Regions from separate parts of the Homo sapiens genome. Here all the other regions are linked to region 1. Evidence: promoter capture Hi-C in 16 types of primary human blood cells and fetal thymus (Javierre and others, 2016). All regions are on one chromosome and are shown on one strand. The core of a region is centred on a gene start or on the middle of the fragment in contact, and the rest is flanking DNA. Distances in the headings are between cores, read along the strand shown.

Region 1 (3,493 bases), core at 468-2,967:
GATGTTTTCATTGACTTTATCTGTACCACTTCTTGCTCTGCAGAACAACTTACTCAGATGTTCATTAAATAACATTTCTTGATTTCTAGGAAAGGTTGATACAGGGGGCTAAGAAGGCAAAAAAGTACTAGGGGGACATTTTAAAAGCTTATTATATTGTAGAGCAGACAATTCTTTAGTCAAGAAAAATATTGTGTAGTATGTAAATGCTTTGGCAGTTACCCCAGCTTTGAAGATCTTGAAGAGCTATGCATGGATTGTCTCCAGTTCTTTTTTGTATCTAAGCAGGCTTTACCTAATGACAGTGGTTCCTCACATAAGTTCCAGTGAACTTCAGGATTCCATGAGGCTGCTCTAAGACTTGACTGATAGATGGATGGCCATGATCGCCGTGTTTAATCTGAGGTTGTTCCTGCCCAGGTACCAACTGAGGTCGTTAGGCTTCAGGTATAAATGGAAAGCCTTCCTATTAATCAAGGAGAGGTTTTCCATCACCGGAGAACACTCTGATGTCCTCAGGAATGACACACAGGTGCCTGTACACAGTTTTGCCCCTAGTCTCAGGACCATTGGCTAGCTTATGCATGGGGGTTCCCTGCCTTCCAGGGAAATAAAACTGTAGCTGTAATTTTACTGTTATTTTAGTTTTTTTTTTTTTTCCTTCCGTCTCCTTGAGAGAGGCAGACAGGGGAAGTAAGAATAATGGTTTCAGCAGCTCTGGCCCTTGAATAAACAGCAAGGAAGGGTTCCATCGTCAGGGTCCATTATACATAAAGTGTGCACACCTAACCTACTGTTTATGTAAACAATGGTTATAATTCCCAGGAAAAAAAGATGGCCTCCAGCTCACTTACTCTGTAACCCGTATCTTGATGATTAGTTCCTTTGTCTCTACTAGAATTTCCAATCCATCATTAACCCTCAGTCAAAATGCTGAAAATGGTGACATCACTTAATATCCTAATTCTAGTAAAACAGGGCTAGAAAATACCTTCATAAAATTAAGTTTAAATAATAAATCTCAAGTATTAGTGCTCTTAATATGCCATCTGTCTTCTTAAACTGGGAGTACCTTTGGATTTCCTTAATTCCTCTTGACCCACCCTTTCGTAAGTGAGTACGAAATGGGTGAGAATAAGACTTTGGCATCTATAGCATCTGATTAAATCTTTACTAGTAGTTATTGGTTGGTGAGATGCAGGACAATTTATGTCTTTAAGTCCCAGCTGAATGGGGGTAACACCGCTCAAGCTGTTTTCAGGATTAAATGAGATAATGCAAGTCAAATTCTGCACAGCGTGAGGGACACAGTATGTGCACAACAAACTCTAAGACTTTTAAACACTTTCAATTATTTTTAAAAAGTGGGGTAGGAGACAAGTTTCTACCCAATTTTTAGTAATAACATATAAGAAGGGGAAAGCTTTTGAATTTTTAAAACTTCAGTATTTTAAAATAATGCAGTCACTCTCACACACAAATTAGTCCATGGTCTTTGATAAAGCAAGACATTAGGTGTAATTTTGCTTCAAATTTAATACCCACACTCGTTGACACTGTTGGAAACACTGAGGCTGGCGGTGGGAGGGTGCAAAGCACTTGCTTAGGAACCAGCTGAGAAATCCTCACTGATTTCTCAGGGAGGAGGAAACCTTTCCCTTCCCTCCCCGGGACAAGTCGAAGCCCCACCCCGAGGGAGATTTGTGTCCCTGAATGTAGTAGTTGGTGTCCGGGGCCTGCGCAGAAGAGGACAGTCCGCAAGGGGCGGAAGACAAGACAAAAATGACTCCAGTTCGCTAGACGCGCAGAGGGGCGGATAGCGCGCGGACCCCGCCTTCCCCAACCGAGTGTGGGTTCCAGTCGCTGGGGAGGACCTGGTGGCCCCCTGACCTTGGACGAGCCATATTGGACGCCCCGGCGCCGTCCCGTCTTCCACGCTGCCAACTCCACCGCTCCCGCCCCGAACTGCGGGTAGGTCCAGGCCGCCAGGCCCCGCCTCGCCGGCCCCAGCCCTGATTGACACTGGAGTTGGTACATACGGGTCTGCAGCGGAGGCGAGCAGGAGGGTGAGCGCTATTTTAAACATGGCTTTCTCTTTCCCTTAGCCTAGGAGCCACCGCAGCGCACCCAGCCCGCGAGTACAGCCGCATGGGAATAATCCCAACATTTGCCTGATTTATTTTCTTCCCTCTCCTTACGCTTGTACTTGTTTTTCTCCTCTCGCTGTTTTCCCTTCACACTAATTCGCAACCTGGCAGTTTGCAAAGAGGAAACTCCCTTTCGGAATGGAAAGCCGCTTTTGCTTCTTGTTGTTGGGGGTGGAAAACATTCCAGCGAGAATGAGTTCAAAAAGAAGGGAAACCGCGTCACTGGAGAGAAAGTAACATTAAGAGATCGATGAGGACGGAGTGGGTAGGGGGGACAGAGAGAGGAACGTCTGCAACAGGCATCTAAAAACAAGCGTGGAGGAGCAAAGATTCCCAATCCCCGGGTTACTACCGCGCGCGTTCTGCGCGAGCCATTGCAATGCCAGCATTTACTGTAAGCAGAATTTGAAGGCTTTTGAAATCTTTTTTTGGTAAGACTTACCTTTCTCTTCGGCATAATGACTATGTCGGTGAAGCAAAAAGTAAAGCAACGGACTGGAACTGCTGGCGCCGCCGCTGGATGCTGCCTCTGCCTCTGCAGCTGCTCACGCGCAGGGCACGACGTAGCCCGGCCTCTTCGACCTGCACCTCCGCGGCTCCCTCTGGGGGCCCTCTGCTCGCCTCCCTGCTGCTCCAATGAGGAGCCCCGCCAGCCGGCCGCGAGGCCCCATTGGCTGAGGCAACGTTCTAAATTCCACGAGGGCACGCCCACCTCCGCGCGCGGTACGCGCTGTTGTAGTTTCCACTTCACCGAAAAAAATCTGCCTGGCGACTGAGCATGCCCAGTTCAACTAGTAGCCTCCAGGCCACACAATCCTGAAGTTTCATTGTTTCGCTGCTCTCTCTTTGAGATTGTAAGAATAAGAACAGTGTGTGTCTTCATAGGAAGGAAAAAGAGTAAGAATGAATACGTAAACTTTATAATGTAAATATATACACAGCAGGTACCTTATTCATTTCCTACCCATAAAGGCTTTTAATGAATGTTACATGGTGGGAATCTGTAAAGCGTGGGAAGGTACTCTGTACTGGAAGAGCGTGGCAACTTCTAAAGGCCTCAGTTTCCCCCCCTAGATATATAGTGACAACAGTCCCTAAAATCACTTAGCTCTAATTTTCTGAAATCTGTGATTATAAATCACTCACTAATTCAGCTAACTTCAAACTAGATGTGAAGACGAATAGGACATGTTTGTTACGGAAATTAGGAAAAGAAAGAACAAGGCAAAAACTGATTATTTTATATTTGAGACATATATTTGAATGACACCCGTCATGTTACACTTTATGCGTAATATTTCTCAAAGTTCTGCAAGGCATAAAATGAGCATTGCAAAAATATTTCT
Region 2 (3,493 bases), core at 274-2,773, 870 kb after region 1:
GAAGTAAAACTATGCCTTGATCTTATTTGTCTCAATGGTGGCTTGTCATTGGGTTGTACGTAGCAGAGGTTCAATAAAATTCTCATCAGTTATTATTTTTCTCTTTTTCTCCCCGACCTAAATAATCTCAGTACCCCCAGCTCCCTAAACTATCAACAAATAGAAAAAAAGCTCTATTCATTTTTATCCTTGTTCTTTACTCTCCTTAGTTTAAACCCAAATTTGACTATGTAAATGTAATTTCATTTTGTTACCCCTTCCTTCATTAAAACAAAAATACCCTTCATGCACATGCAAAACACTCTACCCCACACTATTAAAACAGCAGAAATGAACACTAACAAAAGCCAAGATAAAAAATTTCCCCAATGTTGAATTTTTGGACTTAGTGTGGGGGTAGGAAAAATGGAGACATAATTCTGGTTCTCCCTTTGGCAGTTTTCAATTGCTGTTTCTTAATCTCAGTCAGAAAACACATTTCTCTGCCTCTCCTTTTGCCCCATTTCTACCCTCTCCTCCCTTGCCCCTGTGCAAAACCAAAGATGGGTTAAGAGGCAAGGCATAATGGAAGAGGAATGTTCTTTTCCTCCACTCCCACTTTCTTCTTCAAATTCTGTTTTGGGACCATCCTTCCCCACCCTCCCATTTTCATCTGATGGACACACTGTCTCTGTTGTCTCTTGTCATATTTGATTTTATGATATTTCATGTTTTATGTGCTTTTTTTTTTTTTTAGTAAATTCATGGACAGAGAATGTATCCTGGTAAACACTTAGATTAAAACAAATTTACATAGTTGATTACTATAAATGAAAATTAGTGACTCAAATTCTCCAGGTTTCTAAGCTACTTAGACTAAGCCAATCAGGTAATTTTTGCTACTTCTGGGCAAAATGTATCTGAATTCCTATTCAGTGGATTTGCAGGATGAAATCTAAGTTTACCTCTTTCATCTCTCATTTAAATGTGGAAAAACGAAATCAATAAAAATCTATATATGCTTATTAAGCATTTTAAGGAGGGTGTGAATAAGGAGTGAAAGCTTTGAGCAGTGACTACAGCAGTTTTTCGAAAGTCAAAACAATAACCAATGCCAATCAGTAGCTCTCTTCACCTCTCACACAATAATAGAGACAGGACAGGATAAAAAAGGGTTACATTTAAAAAAAAGTATGGATGTTAAACCATTGGAAATGGCACTGTAAATGACACCGGAAAAGATCGCCTCCAGGCACTGTGTGGAACTTTGCAAACTCGGGTCCTCACCCGAGGACCGCACGGCCGACCTCGGGGAGGCTCCACCCCAGAAACTATTTCATTGGCGCCACCTCTAGCCCACACTTCCCCTCTTCCGCATGCGCACAAGGAGCAGAAGCCGACCAGCTCGTCACGTCGCCTTCCCCGCCCCTAAATTTCCAGTTCCGATTGGTCTGTTTCATGGGACCGCCCCTCTGGCCCGACCAATGTGGAAGCCTCCTCGGGTGCTCCGCCCTCCCCGCAGGCGGCGTGCGGCTGCATAGCCTGAGAATCCCGGTGGTGAGCGGGGATGGCGGTTGTAGCGGCGGCTGCCGGCTGGCTACTCAGGCTCAGGGCGGCAGGGGCTGAGGGGCACTGGCGTCGGCTTCCTGGCGCGGGGCTGGCGCGGGGCTTTTTGCACCCCGCCGCGACTGTCGAGGATGCGGCCCAGAGGCGGCAGGTGGCTCATTTTACTTTCCAGCCAGATCCGGAGCCCCGGGAGTACGGTGAGCCCTGGGACTGCCCACTCGGTCCCGCTGCAGCCCGGACTCCCAGGCTCGCAGGCGCCCGCGAGGGGCAGGGGCCGGCAGGCTGCAATCCTTGCATCCCAGCTTATTAACTTCCTGACTCTCTGGAACCTCCTTGCCTCAGGGTCTAACTGTGGTTCACTTCTTGCTCTATTTTTGTGACTGTTCAGCCCTCGAGACGCAGTCCCCCCTCCCCCGCAACTTTGAGATGGGTGAGAGGGCATACTGCCACCTGGAAGAGCCTGAGGGTGGAGGGGTGGTGCCCAGGGAACGCCTCCCTTTTCTCTGTCCTCCGTCCTTGCTTTCTCAACCCAGGCCTTAGGTGTTGTTCCAGCCTGGCCAGGACTGGGCCACTAGCTTAGGTAGAGGCATTTAAAAGATATATATATATGTTTATATATATATATTTTAAATGTATATTATATATATTATATATAAAATATATATATGTATATAAAATCAATTCAGTTACTCAGTCCCTTGGTTTCTTCTTACATACAGAAATTGTGTGTATGTGTGTGTGTGTGTGTGTGTGTATATATCCACACACATATATATATGTGTGGATATATATACGCGCATATATATGCATATATATGTGCGCATATATATATATATGCATATATATATATGCACACATATATATGCATATATATATGCATATATGTATATATGTCCCTTGGTTTCTTCTTACCTACAGAATTCTGAGTAATTGAACTGATTTTCCCAAGGTCACAGAACAGGTCCTTCCTAGAGATGTGAAAGAATTCAGACTTTCTACTTGAGCTTAGTACTGAGCTTGTCCTGGGCTATGCTGCCACTTAGCCAAGGAGGTGAAGGGGATGAGAGGAGGAAGCCATAGGAAGGGCATGTAGCAAACTCCTCATAGTATGACTGTTGCATGATTTTTACCATTTCTGCAAGTTTCATGTAATGTCTCTCATCAGAATATCAGATCCAGTGTCTCTCTTCAGAATATCAGGAAACTGTAGGGAAACATGTATTGCTTCCTTGTCTAATAACTTCTCATGTGCATGCTAGAGCTGACATTTTTGGAAGTGTGTCTTGTGGATAAGAATGAACAGTTATTGAGTGCTTACCAGGGTCAGGTGCTGTGTGTATGTTTCATCATCTCATTTAAGGGTTAGGACAACCTTAAAAGGTTAGTAAAGTTTTTATTCCCATTTTGCAGTTAGGTTAATGGAGTCTTGAGACAGTTTGACCAAGATTACACAGGTAAGTTAGTGGTAGCTCCAAAGCTCCAGCTTTGGAATCTAATTGATCAGATTCCAGAGCTTCCATTCTAAACAATGTACTAAGATGCGTGTAGATATAATTTACTTGGAGGGCGTCCCAGTATTGTGAAACAGTAGGTACCATAAAGGTTAATAGTAGGTGTTTTTTTTTTTTTTTCCACCACCAAGATGAGCCCTCAATTCTGTCTTCAAAGCAAATTCTGTCTTCAAAGCAAAGAAATTTTGGTCTAATACTTGAGAAATAGTCCAACTTTCCATAGTTGTAAACTTACTAAAATCTAAGTAAAATGATATCATGTTATCATGATATATATCATGATATATATAAACTTGTTCTTATTTTAAAAATAATACAAACATATTAACAGATAATTTGGATAATGGATAAAAAGTAAAAAAAAAAAAAAAAAATCTGCCGGGCGCAGTGGCTCACGTCTGTAATCCCAGCACTTTGGGAGGCGGAGGCAGGCGGAT
Region 3 (3,493 bases), core at 528-3,027, 640 kb after region 1:
CTATGCCATTTCACTGGCATTTGGCAGCTTATAACATAGCCCCAGTGGAGATGTAAACTCCTTAAATCTGGTAATTCCACTTTATATTGGATTATAAAAGGTTATGTGGGGTAAGAACCTCAGACCGTACAAAGAACAGTTAATCTCATGAAAAGAAAAATTTTGGAACCAAAATGTAATAGTGGTTGTTTTAACTCTATGTTCTTTCAGTCATTTAGATCCTCTACTCATTCTCTGAACAAGCATTTTTTAAGTGCTTACCATGTTTCATGCTATGCTAGGAGCTATGAAGAAGGGGGAATAAGAGCTGCTTGGTTTCATTAACTTTAGTGTGATACACCTTCTGAATCCTGTGAATAAAGAGTCTGGGTAAACTAAGGTCAATACATAAAAATAAAACAGATTACAGATGTTCCCACAGTGAAAATGATCACTGTGCACACTGGTGTTTACTTTAATGGACACGTGAATGGGAATGGTGTCAGCACCACACTCTGAGTATCATCAACTGACTCATGAGAAATCCAGAACACTGAAAGGAGGTAGAGAGGCTGTGTTACCTCTTCAACTTTGAGCCCCATCTTGCTGAATCAGAGAGTCAACTGAATAGGATTAATATTAAGACCAAACAAGGACGGTTTCAAGTTGTTTGACTAGATATTTCCTCCTTTCTCTCTTATCATATGTTGTTTTTCCTAATTATTTAACTCTTAGGCCTTCCAATTCTATCCCTCCTTGTTGATTTATACCATCCATACTCTTTTGGGTAATTAAGATTTCCTTCTTTAGTCATCACCCCAGCATATAAATTTCATTATCTTTAACTTATCTTACTTATCTCAGTGTAAGAAACTCATCTAAATACACCTATCCACTTCCTTTTGCAGACACGATCATAACATTTGTAATTTTTCTCGGTTGTAGCTGAATAAGTTACTTAGAAGATGATTTTACATGTTCTTTTTATTTCTTTACTTATCCTCTGTCTACATTTCTGACATGTGCACATGCTCCAATATCTAAGGTTAAATCTTCACTGGTTGGGCAGGTGAGTAGTTGATATACGACTAACAGGCAATTCTCCTTCAGGAAACTCAAGATTGTGTAAGTATGCCTGATTCATCCCTGCTGCTGCAACTGAAACATGTAATAAAAGAGCAACAACAAAGAGAGGCGATGATGACAGCTTAGCTGCAGCATCTTGTTCTCTAGCTCAATAAGCCAACAGGGAAACTATGACCCTGGTGAAACAAGTAGCTCTCAGAATCATTCCAGTCATTCCAAAGAGTGATGTGATTTTTCTTCACATGTTCACAATGAAGATACTATGTTGTTTAATTGATGCTCTTTTTCAAAGTGTGTTCTCTTGTTTCTATATACCTCCCTTATAAGGCTCCATACTGTCATTCAACTTAATTTCTGTTCAACAGAGATTTCTTAAACACCTCCTACATGCTAAGCACTGTGCTAGGAGCTATAAATATCATGAGGTGGATACAGACATGGCTGTCTCCTGGTACATTCTTTTTCTATCATTCAATCACATTCACCTATTTTTAAATATGTTGATAATGAGTCAGGATATAAGAATATAAGGCTAAAAGCACGGGCTCTGATCAGAGAGACTTGGTGATGAGCCTTAAGCTTATCACTATTATGGTGGTCATAGGCTTACTTGCATGTACTACTGAGCCTTTGCTTTCCCATTTGTGAAATAGAGGTCACATTAGTACCTACTCCCCAGAATAGTTTTGAGGATTAAGTGAGATAAGTGCTCCAGTGTCTTGAATTTAGCAGTGTTAAAAAAGTAGAAGTTCTTATTAATTAATAATATGATTTTCCTGAGAATGTAAACACAGACTCACTAGTTCTCTGCCAGAAGGTGAGGCACCTCCTTGAGCCTCCTAAGAAAAGCTTTTGACAAAGGTTGAAACTGATGTGTAATTGAATTCATAACAAGCTTGTTGAATGGTCAACCAGGAAATATTAAGGTGAAGATTTCTCATGTCAAGTGAAATTAAGAGAATATGAACTAGTGCTGTGACCCCCAAGCTCCCTTTCTTTAAAAGACATTTTCTCTGATTTATTCTGAATAAAACAAGTCTGAGAGAGGCTGTGAAGTAATGGTTCTGTGGTAATTAGGTCATCTTCAGAAAGTGCTATATAAAATATTATGCATTATATATTCACAATGCACTTCATTAGCATGTTAAAAATTCAGAGAATACTAGCAGAAAAGAAGCCGGTTTTAATTTCTTATCATTTCCCAAATTCATTTGTCTGTAGGATTCTTTGTTTGTTGAATAGCATCAAGTAGCATCTCAAGGAACACCCTTTGGGAAATGCTGCTGAGAGAAGCTAAGAACTTGCTTCACGATCGTCAAGCACTGAAAAGGATTCATACTTGGGAAACTGGCAAACTGTTTTTCTGACCCTGACCCTTGCCAGTAGTATAATCATGGGCAAGTCACTTGATTTCTTCACATGTAAAACAAAATGATAATATATCCTCCATGGACAGCCATAGAGAGAAGATTCATTACAAAATGCATTTACGGTAGGAACAGAAGTTGACAATAAAAGTTAATATTGTCACAATGTGCATTCTAATTTACACGAAACTCATTGCAAGGAAGCAGATCTTAAAAGTAGTCTTGATACTGGAAGACTGGGAAGAGTTTGGGTGTGCTCAGGACAGAGCTATTGACTAAAGTGTGAGGTATGTGTAGAGAAAGATGAGGAATCAAGGCTGGGAAGACGAGAAAAGGAGGAAGATAATTTGGTGCTGGGGTGCTGAGGACACTAATAGAAATGGTGAAAAACAAATGTGAGTAGGGGTGGCTGAGGGGTAAAGCCAGACTCTTTTCTGACATGCTAGTTTGAAGAGCAAACAAACCATCCAGTTGGCAATTTCATTTATCTAGATCTTAGGAAAGAGTTCAGAGCTTGTGAAACAGGAAACATTAGCATATTATTGTGAAATTTTTGAGAGAAGAATCATTTCTTATTCAGCTCCGTATCTTCTGTGTTCAACCTGGTGTCTGGTGCGTAGTAGAAGGTCTTAAAAGTTTGACAAATGAATTAATCAATGAACAAATTAATTAACTGCAAGTCTAACAAATCAAAGTAGATTCCAAGCCATATAACCGAAGTGGAATAAAACACCAGTTAAATGAATGAAATGATAGCTGAACCCCTGGAATTGGGAAGATCCACAATTAAAGGTGCATGGAGAAAAAGAAGAGGACCAAGGACAAAACAAAGAGGTACAACTTATTTGATGGCTGGCAGGAGCTAGAGAAAACAGAGTCAGAGACTGAAGAAGAAATGAGTGTTTTGCAAAAGGATCGGAAAGAAAGGAGAAGTTGGGTGTCAATGATATAAAATGATTCTGGGAGATCAAGTGGAATGAGACTTATCTTCCGTAAATATCACTTCTTTTAGCTATGCTTTAAGAAGAGCAGCATGACTACAGGGTCCAAAGCCCTCATGC
Region 4 (3,493 bases), core at 487-2,986, 570 kb after region 1:
ATGAATAGTTCCATTAAAAGGTACACCTATCATTTATAAAGATCTGGGATTCAAGACAGAAAATGCTGACTCAACTGGCTTAAACCACATGGAATGGATGCAGGAACAATCAGAGGCCCCATGATGCCATCCACCCAGGTTTGTCTTGTCCTCTCCTCTGCTGTCCTCAGCATCAGTTCTATTTTGATGCTGTCCTCCCTGTGGAGGCAAGACAGCTGCCACATTCCTAAGTAACACATCTAGAAACAAAATACCATTGGGTGCCAAAAAGGGAGCATGGTTTCTGGTGTTTGTATTTTCAGAAACAGAGAAAACTCTCCCTCTAAACTCCCAGCATTCCACCTCTCTTGCATGTCCCACTGGCTAGAAATGAGTCACAAGCCCACTCCTAAACCTATTATTGGAAAGAGAATGGGGTCATACAAATGGGCTTAGTTCAGCCAGGATTCAGCCCTGGAAGTGGGGTAAGCCCCCTGCTTTGTGCCACATTGGAAAGAGATGAGTGCCTGATACTGGGGCTTTGACAATAGAAAATCAGGAGGGGATATATATTTCTCTAGAAATGATCTGATCAAAATGGTAGTTACTGGCTGCGCACAGTGGCTCACGTCTATAATCTCAGCATTTTGGAAGGCCAAGGCAGGAGGATTATTTGAGCCCAGGAGTTCAAGACCAGCCCAGGCAATATAGTGAGAGACCCAGGCTCTACCCACCAGCCCTCACAAGAAAAAAATTTTCTGGGCATTTGGTATGTGCCTGTAGTCCCAGCTACTCAGGAGGCTGAGGTGAGAGGATCTCTTGAGCCTGGGAGGTCAAGGCTACGGTGAGCTGAGATCATGCCACTGCACTCCAATCTGTCTCCAAAAGAAAAAGAAGAAAAGGTAGTTACTTATTGTAACAGGAAGCAAGGAGGGCCTCAGATTTGTCAGTGTTGTTCATGACAACCACACACTTTCAGAAAGTTTCAGTGGGATTCACACCTTACTTTGCACCACCACACTCCACGGGGCTTGGATGCAATTGTGCTGTATGTAAATGTGTATTGTGTATTCAACTATTCCTGGAATTCTATTTTCAATCCTGATCTTAATTAGAGGGATACTTCTTTACCACGACAAAGTCATGGTCAGAAGAGAAGCTCAACATTGTATTGAGGTCACAGAAATAGAATTCCATTATTGTGCCTAGAGCAAGCTGAGCCACATGGGTGGGAAATTTTAGACTTCAGGATTGAGGGGCCAACAGAAAATATTCAAAAATATGCAATGAATACCTTTCCACAGAATAAGACAATGCCATACATGGCCCAACTTGATCTGGTGTTTTCTCTATGTTATTAGGGTTTTCTGCAAAAGCAAACAAGCAAAAAACAGTGGTTCCATTGTTAACTATATTTGGGAAATGCTGAACTAAACAGGGTAAAACAGGTGTATCTACTTCAGGACCTCTCAGAGTTGTTGACACGGTGCCACAAATTGTGGCTCTCCAAAAGGGGACATTATATTCAGTGTTCCCCAAACATATTTGACCACAGAATACAAAATGGAATATGGTGAGACTGATGTGCAGAATCCACTTTGGGAAAGGCTGCTCAGGCCCTTCATTTTACAGCTAAATAAACTGAGGACCTGTGAAATGAAGGAATGTGTCCAAGCTTGCTCCATTAGCCAGGATTCCTCGGGAAACAAATGGAAGCATCAAGAGAGTTTGAAATTTAAAAAAAATGATTAATGTAGGCAGGATTAGGGAAGCCAACAAGATATAGTGAGACACCCAGGTGGTGGCTCTTGCCACCCCAACCCTAAAGGGGAAAGAGAAGGAAGCTTGTTACTGGAGCTCAGCTGAGAGCTGGAGAAACGGAGGGGCTGCCTGTCAGAACTGTCATGGGGTAGGGAAGAGGGGGATAAATACATGACCTCAGCCTGTCTCTCCTCCTGTCCTCTCCTTTCCCACTGGTGCTGCCCATTGGCCAAATCCATCTGGAAGCCAGAGGGCGGAAGCCTGGTGATGCAGTTTGTAGAGGTCAGCCTCCCAGGCACAGAGCTGAGCAGAGAAGGGTGAGCACATATCTGTGGGGCAGGTGGGGAATAAACAGCACAATTACATAGCTAGTATTTTGCCTTTTTCATTTTTTAAAAAAAGTTTACCTCATATTTTATAAACTTATGTAAGTTGGCTTAATAAAATTTAATGCAATATAAAACAAAAAATGCTAAAAACATAAAGCAATGGTTTTCAAGATGTGGTCTCAAAGTGTGATTTCCAGGGGTTCCCAAGACCCTTCAGATCTGCAAGGTCAATTTGTAATAATACTATGATGTTACCTCGTGTTTTCCTTTCACTCTTTCACAAGCAACCCGTGGGTTTTCCCATGCTGAGTGATGATGTTATTGACTGCTAACGGAATGTGTGCCTGTGCATTCTCATGATTTAAAATTCATCCCATTTTAATTTCTAATGTAGTAGATGATAAACATTACTCAAATAAACACAGTTTCTTTGGGTCCTCAATTATTTTTGATGTAAAGAAACCCTGAGACCAAAATGTGAAAGAACCACTGATGTAAAGGTAGCCAAAGGACAGATGTGTCCAGGTGAGAGGTGAAGCCAGCTGGACTTCCTGGGTCGAATGGGGACTTGGAGAACTTTTCTATCTAGAGGATTGTAAATGCACCAATCAGCACTCTGTAAAAATGCACCAATCAGTGCTCTGTATCTAGCTAAAAGATTGTAAATACACCAATCAGTGCTCTCTATCTAGCTAAAGGATTGTAAATACACCAATCAGCACTCTGTAAAAACGCACCAATCAGCACTCCATGTCTAGCTAAAGGATTGTAAATGCACCAGTCAGCACTTTGTAAAATGGACCAATCAGCACTCTGCAAAATGGACCAATCGGCACCCTGTAAAATGGACCAATCAGCAGGACATGGGCGGGGCCAAATAAGGGAATAAAAGCTGGCCACCCAAGCCAGCAGAGGTAACCCGCTCCGGTCCCCTTCCATGCTGTGGAGGCTTTGTTCTTTTGCTCTTTCCAATAAATCTTGCTGCTGCTCACTCTTTGGGTCTGCACTACCTTTAAGAGCTATAACACTCACTGCAAAGGTCTGCGATTTCACTCCTGAAGTCAGCGAGACCACGAACCCACTGGAATGGAGAAACTCTGGACACATCTGAACATCTGAAGGAACAAACTCCAGATACACCATCTTTAAGAACTGTAACACTCACCACGAGGGTCCAAGGCTTCATTCTTGAAGTCAGCGAGACCAAGAACCCACTGGAAGGAATACATTCAGGACATACAGGTACTTGAAAGGAACTATTCTTCATGCTGGGCACCAAATCTTCTAGTTTATCTAACAGTAAAGTCGATAGGAAACATAAGGGTTAGATGGTAAGTCATCTCTAGAGCCTGAGATGTGACTTGGGTAAGTTTTCTAACAACAAAGTATAAGAAGCCCTTGTGTGGAGTTCATGTATAATGATC
Region 5 (3,493 bases), core at 514-3,013, 550 kb after region 1:
TATGCTGCTAAACATCTTACAGTGTTCACCATAGCCCTCCATAACAAAAAACTGTATGGCCACAAATGTCAATAGTGCTGAGGTTGAGAAACACTGCTGCAGAGGAAGAGGAGAAAAACAACATGAAATCAACGATCAAGATTCCATATCCCTGATTAAAAACAGACTAGTTAAAAATAATCCCCAGCATCTGTCCATTTTCTGTTTTGGGACATGGTTCAAATTAGAAGGGCCAAATTAGAAATGATCCTCTGCAAAGGGACTGTTGCCGACAGTATCAGAGATGGCAGCAGAGCCACAGCCGAGGGCCACTCATTGCATGAGGTGAGGGAGGAGTGACTGGATGGTACAATGCTGTTTGTTCCTTTCTGTAGGACTGGTTAATTATTTACCTTGAATAAATGAGTTGAATTCATTTCAAATCAAGTCACTTTTTAAGTTGGCATCTTCTCTAGGGAAGCCAAGATAAGGATCATTCTTCTAGGCAGGGCAAGGTAAGGCTCATCCTTTGAGCATCCCTCATTCCACATAGAATAGGGAGTGCTCCTGTTCCTGAAGCTCCCAGGGTATCTTGCCACAGCTAAAGGAAAACATTAGAAAATCAGCTGTTGCAATTTCAAAGTCAGAAAAGGTCACGAGATGTGTACAGCTTTCACGCTTGTTTTGGATTCAGGGATGTTTGTTTCTTCCTGCCTGCTCTGTATAAGTCCGGACACTGCCACCAAGGCAATCCATGGCTTGGGTTCTAGCTTAAGTTCTGAATGAAGAGATCTCATATGTGCACAAATTACAATAATAAGCAGTACAGTAAATTCACTTTTCCTACAAAAAGAAGAAACATAAACATGAATTATTAACAGTAGTATCATGATTAAAGGAATTTACATTTCTGGGCATACAAATAGTAACTAACTCTTCATCATTCTCAACTACTATTTACTGGTGTTTGCAATTAACATTCATTTTATTTGTGTCCAAAGGAAGGGGGGGAAATAGGTGAAGAGAAGAAGAGAAAGGCATAGAAGAGAAAGGAGGGAAAACTTCATGATGACACAGATTCACATGAAAACAATACAAGATGATTTATCCAAGCAGATGTTTCCCTAATGGCTAGTTTTTTTAATTTCTTTGAGATGTACATTCCTATGTAATTATTTTAAGATTAAAGATTTAAATTAAGATGAATATGAAATTAAGATTAAATTACTGGAAGAGGAATGGCTGCATCAACTAATTAGCTCAGTTTGAATTTTGATATATATTTTTAGATTGCCCTCCGTATGTGGTGTCCCAGTTTAAAACCCTATCTGCTGAGAACACAGGAAACTACCTGTTTCTCTATCTATGACAATAACAGTTTTTATCCAACTTTAAAATCTTTGTACTGATTGGTATAAATATTAGGTTGGTGCAAAAGTAACTGCAGTTTTTGCCATTACTTTTAATGGGGAAAACCACAATTACTTTTGTGCCAATTTAATACTAGCTCATATTGTTGCTGTTTGCATATCTTTATTTTCTTCTGATATAACTATTGCCCATACGCATTTCTTCTTTTATGAATTACCTTTTAATGTCCTTTGTCCACTTTTTCCTGTGTTATCTTCTCTGATTTGAAAGTACTCTTCATCTCATAGGGATTGTATTGATTTCTCCTTTTATGTAAGCTTTAATTATTTTTTCCTCAAGCCATAGACTTATTAATGATACTTTAGATGTGCAACAAAGTTGTATTATATATGCACTTGTTCCTATTCCTTTTGCTTTCCTATATGTTATCAATAACCTGTTAGAAAGCATAATGGAATATTGGCTACTTTCTCCCTTATTTGTTCATATATTCATTCCAGAAGTAGATGGCAAGCTTTCTGCGAGTCAAGGAAAATATGAGATACTGGGAATATAATGATGAGCAAAACCGACTATATCCTCACCTTGTGGAGCTTAAAATCCATCCACAGAGCAACCACCACCACCACAATAATAATAACTTAAACAACAGAAAATCATGAGAAAGAAATAAAAATGAAATGTGCAAGATCTTTATAAAGCAAATCCTAACATTCAGCTGTAGTACATAAAGAACAGACTGCATAAATGGAGATAATTCTATACTCCTGGAAAGGAATAGTTACTCTTATAAGATGTTAATTCTATATCGGAGCCATTATAAAATAATTTAAAAATGATCTATAAGAATAAATATATGAAAATATCTAAGAAAAGTTTCACAGAAAAGAGTAATAGCAAATTTGCTCTGTGAAGTATAAAAGATTATAATTCCTCAGTACTTAAAATGATTGGAAAGAGAATTATTAAATAAATGGTATTAGGTCAACTGGTTAATTATCATGAGAAAAAGCTAAAATAGAACATTACACTTTATGCCAAATTATATTCTTGAAATATTTAAGATTTTTAATGTATAAATTATAAAAGTACTGGAAGAAAATATAACAGAATACAAATGTGTTTTAAGAAGCAAGGAAGGATTAAAAGTATAATATTGAAGACAGGAAGAACAAAATCTACTGTGTAAAAGTTTGACCACATTCATATGTGGAATAAAGATATGCGAATGAAAACAATATGAGCTATTATTTGTACCAATCAGATTGGAAAAGATTGCAACAAAAATATCAAATAAAAGTAGAAATATAGAAAACTCATGTATGTGTATGTAGTGAGGTGGAATGGGAGTTTGCAATAACTCTAATATATAAAACATTCTTTATAATTGTAAGAAAAAAGACAAATTCCTCATAGGAAAATGGGCAAAGGCTAAGGATGGGGGATTCAATAAAAAATAAATACTTTGGTAATAATAAAAGACATGCAAACAGTCTGGCAAAGATTAAAAGGCACAGTGTTGAGTCTGTGGGAAAGGTGCACTCATATGTCCACCACTGAAGTGATTCTAAATTAGGTTAGTCTTTTGGAGAAATACAGCTAGGGTAGTCTTATAAGGACTGAGGTTTATGCCAGGTGAAAGCAAGAAACATTTATTGTCCCACAAGTTCCGTGGGTCAGGAATCTGGGTGTAGCCTAGTTGTGTCCTTGGGCTTAGGGTCTTTTGCAAGGCTGCAGTCAAGAAGTTGGTGAGGGCCACAGTCATCTGAAAGCTCATCTAGAGGAAGCTCTACTTCCCAGCTCCCTGCCGGGACTGGTAGCAGGTCTCCATCCATACATTTGAGGGCATAAATACCAGGAGGGAGGATCACTAGGGTCCATTTTAGAGGCTGCTAACCCCAGGGGATAATTCAACAATTTGTATCAAAAGCATACAAAATAGTGTGCATTTTTTGATATATCAGTTCCCATTTTCTGCTTTATCCCAAGTAAAGAACTGAACAAATGCACAAAGATAGGAATGCAAGCATTTTTAAGATGGATGGCATACAATAGAATAAAATGAGAACAGCCTAATGTCAATAGTCTAGTTTCAATAAATTAGGTTATAGCTATACAACAGAACAACATACAGTGATTAAAA

What was found. The method cuts DNA at HindIII sites, captures the fragments that hold promoters and counts their contacts. A CHiCAGO score of 5 or more calls a contact.
Region 2: a contact is called between the fragment with the promoter of BCKDHB here and the fragment with the promoter of HMGN3-AS1 in region 1, in 2 of 17 cell types (naive B cells and fetal thymus). The highest score is 5.4, in naive B cells.
Region 3: a fragment that was not itself captured here is called in contact with the fragment with the promoter of HMGN3-AS1 in region 1 in 1 of 17 cell types (M2 macrophages); the score reaches 5.5 in M2 macrophages.
Region 4: a contact is called between a fragment that was not itself captured here and the fragment with the promoter of HMGN3-AS1 in region 1, in 1 of 17 cell types (M2 macrophages). The highest score is 5.9, in M2 macrophages.
Region 5: a contact is called between a fragment that was not itself captured here and the fragment with the promoter of HMGN3-AS1 in region 1, in 1 of 17 cell types (M2 macrophages). The highest score is 5.8, in M2 macrophages.

The regions. Positions count from the first base shown.
Region 1 is chr6:79,231,957-79,235,449 of GRCh38, forward strand. HMGN3-AS1 (HMGN3 antisense RNA 1) reads left to right here and starts at 1,718. Exons shown (of 2, transcript NR_040671.1): 1 at 1,718-1,971; 2 at 2,106-3,493. HMGN3 (high mobility group nucleosomal binding domain 3) reads right to left here and starts at 2,726. Exons shown (of 7, transcript NM_001201363.2): 1 at 2,590-2,726. The coding sequence starts at 2,604. RefSeq lists enhancers at 1,264-2,054, 2,055-2,844 and a silencer at 2,002-2,051. The HindIII fragment of the contact is 3,424 bases long and covers 1,422-3,493 here.
Region 2 is chr6:80,105,148-80,108,640 of GRCh38, forward strand. BCKDHB (branched chain keto acid dehydrogenase E1 subunit beta) reads left to right here and starts at 1,524. Exons shown (of 10, transcript NM_183050.4): 1 at 1,524-1,742. The coding sequence starts at 1,547. RefSeq lists enhancers at 1,320-1,820, 1,787-1,866 and silencers at 1,407-1,606, 1,637-1,736. The HindIII fragment of the contact is 20,612 bases long and covers 1,041-3,493 here.
Region 3 is chr6:79,872,014-79,875,506 of GRCh38, forward strand. No RefSeq gene overlaps it. Among named protein-coding and RNA genes, the nearest start is that of LINC01621, 62 kb to the left of the region's middle. The HindIII fragment of the contact is 270 bases long and covers 1,643-1,912 here.
Region 4 is chr6:79,803,980-79,807,472 of GRCh38, forward strand. It overlaps LINC01621 (long intergenic non-protein coding RNA 1621), which reads right to left. Exons shown (of 5, transcript NR_131786.1): 3 at 3,235-3,362; 4 at 1,917-2,069. Among named protein-coding and RNA genes, the nearest start is that of LINC01621, 6.5 kb to the right of the region's middle. RefSeq lists an enhancer at 2,493-3,493. The HindIII fragment of the contact is 169 bases long and covers 1,653-1,821 here.
Region 5 is chr6:79,783,973-79,787,465 of GRCh38, forward strand. No RefSeq gene overlaps it. Among named protein-coding and RNA genes, the nearest start is that of LINC01621, 27 kb to the right of the region's middle. The HindIII fragment of the contact is 197 bases long and covers 1,666-1,862 here.